Linked DNA regions of Homo sapiens: region 1 is linked to region 2. Evidence: promoter capture Hi-C in human tissues and cell types (Jung and others, 2019). All regions are on one chromosome and are shown on one strand. Each heading gives the region's core, a stretch centred on a gene start or on the middle of the fragment in contact. The rest is flanking DNA. Distances are from core to core; before and after follow the strand shown.

Evidence for each region. The method cuts DNA at HindIII sites, captures the fragments that hold promoters and counts their contacts. A contact is called where the count stands out against the background at its distance.
Region 1: a fragment that was not itself captured here is called in contact with the fragment with the promoter of RASL11B in region 2 in 3 of the 25 tissues and cell types used here (IMR-90 fibroblasts, liver and mesenchymal stem cells).

Annotation. Positions count from the first base shown.
Region 1 is chr4:52,394,140-52,396,839 of GRCh38, reverse strand. No RefSeq gene overlaps it. Among named protein-coding and RNA genes, the nearest start is that of USP46, 260 kb to the left of the region's middle. The HindIII fragment of the contact is 4,012 bases long and covers 1-2,700 here.
Region 2 is chr4:52,860,774-52,863,637 of GRCh38, reverse strand. RASL11B (RAS like family 11 member B) reads right to left here and starts at 1,321. Exons shown (of 4, transcript NM_023940.3): 1 at 989-1,321; 2 at 314-370. The coding sequence starts at 1,130. It overlaps LOC124900700 (a long non-coding RNA gene), which reads left to right and starts at 1,433. Exons shown (of 2, transcript XR_007058115.1): 1 at 1,433-1,554; 2 at 1,907-2,489. RefSeq lists silencers at 1,002-1,296, 1,268-1,757. The HindIII fragment of the contact is 6,378 bases long and covers 1-2,864 here.

The DNA of each region.
Region 1 (2,700 bases), core at 198-2,697, 470 kb after region 2:
GTAGAGGAGATGAGCTAAAAACGTTTGCAAACCACATATTCAAGAAAAGGCTAGTATTTCAAATATACAAGGAACTCTGATAATTCAACAGTAAAAAAAAAAAACAAAAAAAAACCCAAACAGTTTAATTAGAAAATAAGAAAAAGACATAAATATTTCATCCAAGTGGATATACAGACAGAAAATAAACACATGGAAAGATGCTGAACAACATTAGCTTTTAGAGAAATGCAAGTTAAAACCGCAATGAGCTATCACCACACACTTATCAGAATAACTAAAATTAAAAATAGTGAAAATATAACATGCTGGACAGGATGCAGAGAAAATGAAGCATTTATACATTGCTGGTAGGAATGTAAAGTGGTATGCCACTCTGGAAAACAATTTGAGTTTCCAAAAAGAATTAAACACAGAATTACTATTCAACGAAGTAATTGTAGTTTTGGGCGTTTTATCCAAGATAAATGAAGACTTACATTTATACAGACACATGTACACAAATATTTATAGCACCTTTATTTGAAATAGCCCAAACTGGAACACAGCTTACACATGAAATCGGTAAGTCCAAGAGATATCTGCACTCCCATGTTCCCTGCAGCGCTATTTACAGTAGTCACAAATGGAATTAACCTAATGTTCATGGATGGATGGATGAATATATTTTTTACAAAATGTTATTCAGTCTTAAAAAAGAAAACCCTGCCATTTGTGACTACGTGGATAAACCTAGAGGACCTGTCCTTCAGTGGCTGAATGGTTAAACAGACAGATGTTATCATTGGGAGAAACTGTAATGGGCACATTGGGTTCCTCTGTGTTATTATTTTTTTTTACAACTGCAAGTGAATCTAAAATTATCTCAAAATAATAAATCTATTCATTATTCTCCAGCTTTAATAAGGTATAATTGACAAAAAACTATATATTTATGGTGTCCAATGTGATGTTTTGATATATGTATACATTGTGAAATGGTTGGCGAATTAACATATCTATCACCTCACATATTTGTCATACTTCGTGGTGAGTACATTTAAGATTTACTCTTTCAGCAATTTTCAAGTACATTATTAACTTTAGTTACTATGCTGTGTATTAGATTTCCAGAACTACCTATTGATCTTAACTGAACTTTGTACCCTTTGACCACTATCTCTCCATCTTCTCCCCTCCTGCCATTCCACAGCCCCTGGCATCCACTATTCTACTCTCTGCTTCTATGAGTTTGACTTTTTTTTTTTTTGAGACGGAGTCTCACTCTGTCTCCCCCAAGCTGGAGTGCAGTAGCGCGATCTTGGCTCACTGCAAGCTCCGCCTCCCGGGTTCAAGCTATTCTCCTGCCTCAGCCTGCCGAGTAGCTGGGACTACAGGCACCTGCCACCATGCCTGGCTAATTTTTTGTATTTTTAGTAGAGACGTGGTTTCCCCGTGTTAGCTCCTGACCTCGTGATCCGCCCGACTCCGCCTCCCAAAGTGCTGGGATTGCAGGCGTGAGACACCGCTCCCGGCCATGAGTTTGACTTTTTAAAATTTAATTTGATTTGATTTTATTATTATTATACTTTAACTTTTAGGGTACATGTGCACAATATGCAGGTTAGTAACATATGTACACATGTGCCATGCTGGTGTGCTGCACCCATTAACTCGTCGTTTAGCATTAGGTATATCTCCTAATGCTATCCCTCTCCCCTCCCCCTACCCCACAACAGTCCCCAAAGTGTGATGTTCCCCTTCCTGTGTCCATGTGTTCTCATTGTTCAATTCCCACCTATGAGTGAGAATATGTGGTGTTTGGTTTTTTGTTCTTGTGATAGTTTACTGAGAATGATGATTTCCAATTTCATCCATGTCCCTACAAAGGACATGAACTCATCATTTTTTATGGCTGCATAGTATTCCATGGTGTATATGTGCCACATTTTATTAATCCAGTCTATCATTGTTGGACATTCAGGTTGGTTCCAAGTCTTTGCTATTGTGAATAGTGCCACAATAAACATACGTGTGCATGTATCTTTATAGCAGCATGATTTATAGTCCTTTGGGTATATACCCAGTAATGGGATGGCTGGGTCAAATGGTATTTCTAGTTCTAGATCCCTGAGGAATCACCACACTGACTTCCACAATGGTTGAACTAGTTTACGGTCCCACCAACAGTGTAAAAGTGTTCCTATTTCTCTACATCCTCTCCAGCACCTGTTGTCTCCTGACTTTTTAATGATTTCCATTCTAACTGGTGTGAGATGGTATCTCATTGTGGTTTTGATTTTCATTTCTCTGATAGCCAGTAATGGTGAGCATTTTTTCATGTGTTCTTTGGCTGCATAAATGTCTTCTTTTGAGAAGTGTCTGTTCATGTCCTTCACCCACTTTTTGATGGGGTTGTTTGTTTTTTTCTTGTAAACTTGTTTGAGTTCATTGTAGATTCTGGATATTAGCCCTTTGTCAGATGAGTAGGTTGTGAAAATTTTCTCCCATTTTGTAGGTTGCCTGATTCACTCTGATGGTAGTTTCTTTTGCTGTGCAGAAGCTCTTTAGTTTAATGAGATCCCATTTGTCAATTTTGGCTTTTGTTGCCATTGCTTTTGGTGTTTTAGACATGAAGTCCTTGCCCATGCCTATGTCCTGGAAGAGTTTGACTTTTTAAGATTCCACATATAAGTGAGATCATGCAATATTTGTCTTTCT
Region 2 (2,864 bases), core at 72-2,571:
GCAGGAGTGTTTTGAAGGGAGAGGTTCTTGACTACAAAGGGTGCTTCCAACTGGGGTCACTATAGTTAAAACATACCAAGGGGAATACTTTCAGGCACTTGATAAAATGATGAATGGGCTTGGAATGGAATGAGGCCAGATGGTAGTTATGGGAGGGGGGCGCCATGGAGGGCTGGGGACTGGGGAAAGTTTTAAGTGGCGGGATCCTCAGGCTCGGACTGTCACTGAAAGAACCTCCCTGGGAAGCGCTGGAAAATGGGAACCGCAGTCCTCCTGCAATGGGACAGAATTTTTCTCAAATGCATTGTCTCACCTGCATTTCTTTCATAGTCACCGATGAATCGTTTGGTGAGGAACCGGACCACCAGTGCTGCACGTCAGAAAAAAGAACGTCAAAGTGTTAACCTTGGAAGTTAGATTGTTCTCCACCCCACCCCCTGCCTGGAAAACAGTTCTCCCAAAGAAAGCCATAGATGGCCACCAAGTGAAATTCCTACCCTGTAGCTCCTTGACCCTTCTTTCCAGACAAAAAGGAGGGGGCTAGAAGGCATCGTGAATTATGGCTCTGTGCAGCTGGAAGGCTCACTGGGCCCACCCCCTCCTCTGAGCCCGGCTGAGCCACACCTAAGCCTTCCAGTAGACCCATGTCTTCCTAACCTTCAAGACCTCCCAGGGGGGCTAGCTTCACTAACTCCCCTTTCTGTGCCAGGCATTGCCAGAGGCTCAAACACCCCAAAGTTCTGATGGCGGCGGTGCCGGTGGTCCCCAGAAAGCTGCCTGGCCATTCTTGATCCTTGTTTCCCCCGTCTGTGGAAGCAGGCGGGTGGCGTAGACAACGGCTAAGCCCACTCCCAAGGGGCAGCGGCTCCCTGCGCGGGGACGGAGAGCGGTCGGGCTGCAGCTCCCACCGCTCCCCACGCCTTGTTCAGCCTCAACTCCCGTCAGGGGTCGTCCAAGACCAGACCCAGGGCTAAGCGCGACGACTCACCGGTCTTGCCCACGCCGCTGGCGCCCACCACGGCGATCTTGACCAGGCGGCGGCCGGCGGCGCCCACACAGCAGTCGGAGGCCGCGGCGTTGCCCGGCGCGGGGTACTCGGCGATGGTGCACATGTTCTGAATGAGGCGCATCGCCTCGGCTGCGGCGCACCGCGCGGGAAGGGACTGAGGGACTGGAGAATGCTAGCGCTGCGCGGGAGCGGGCGGGAGGACCCGACTGCGGGGCTCCGCGGTAAGAAATAACAACAATAAATAAGTGCAGGTACGGGCGGGGTGGGGCCGAGCGCCGAGGTTCCGCAGGGCTCAGGCTCCAGACCCAGACTGCACTCGCGCGGCGCGCCGGCTGTTTTCTCCGCGGCCGGCCCCGCCCCCTCTCCCCACAGCCAATCCCGGGGCGCCCTACACGAGGCCCCGCCCCCGGCGCCGCTCCGCGCGCGCGACGCCCCCGGAGGCGCCTGGAGTCAGTGCGGAGCCCCGTGAGGCGCGGGGAGAAGAGGCAGCGGGCGGAGGGGAGCAGCGGGTGGTCCGAGGCGGCGCAGCCCAGGGTGGGCGCCTGGTAGGTCCTGCCGCGCGAGCATGGGGCAGCTGCTGTGGCTGCGGGGCCAGGAAGAGAGCGCAGCCTCCACAGAGCCATTCCGGACCGCTGCCTCCGCCGGCTCCACAGCCCACGCGCGCACTCGCTGCAGCCCCAACCTAGGGCGTCTGCTCTGGGCGGGCCGGGAGCGGTGTTTGCTCCCCGGCTTAGTGCCGCCCGCCCTGATTTGGAGCGATTGCACTGGCTTGGGTACATCCCAGCTCATAGATTCAGCTACAGTTGGCAATCATCCGCAAAGACTCCAGCCTAAGACCTTTAGACCCCCGTAAAATGTGACATTTGAAGCAAAAATATCATCCACGTTTTATCCTAGACCCACGTTCTCTGGCTCTTGTCGACGGCGCAAGCTAACGCAAACACACATGGTCGGACGCATGCACAGCACGCCTAGAAGCGGATCAAGAAGTAATTATAGAACAAGCTTTCCAGCGCCTCACTCAGTCACACCTCCTTCAAGAGCTGTGAAATGGAAAGAAAACAGTTACTCCAGCTGCGACGTCTGAAGGGGCCCCGCACTTCGTCCCTGGTCATAAGACACCGCAAGAGTTTAGTTAAGTGGCTTGATACCAAGGAAGAGGTGGGCCCTGCACTCCTAAAATCCCAAGCTCCGGCCCCTTACAGTCTCATCTGAGAAACACATCTTCAACGGCAGGCCAAATTCCTCCTGCGAGCAACATTCTGTAGCTGCAGCTGATGGCAAGATGTCACCAGCGGCTGATGGCAAAATGTCACCAGAGTCGCGGGTTAACCACCCCATCCGCTATCCAAGGCCCTCTCCCCGCTACCCTTTCAACCTTGTCCCAGAGGCTTTTATGTTGGGGTATGGCAACAAACTCTGTGGCTTTGTGTACCCACCCACATTAAAGGCTAAAATGTGAAATAAACCAGTGCCCTTATCCGCACATGTCAGTCATCTAATTTGACCCCCTCTTCCAGCCAGAACTTAATTGACCAGGTATTTGACAGAATTTTATGATCCTCAGCCAGTTCAGACTCTGAGATGAACCTCTTGTCTACAGAGGTTTAGGTGTTTGCAGGAATGCAAGGAGAAATAGAAAGGTAATCTCAAGGTAGCAAGTTTTCTAGGATGGGCCACGTAATTAGAAAGACACACAACCTTACAATAAACATAATAAAAGGCTGACTTCTAGGGAGATCACTAGAACGAAACAGCCATTTGAGTCAGAAAGAAAAAGCATTTCCAATATGCACCATGTCTTTCTGCATGGTTTAAATCAGACTTGAATGTCACTTCTATAAAATCAAACTTT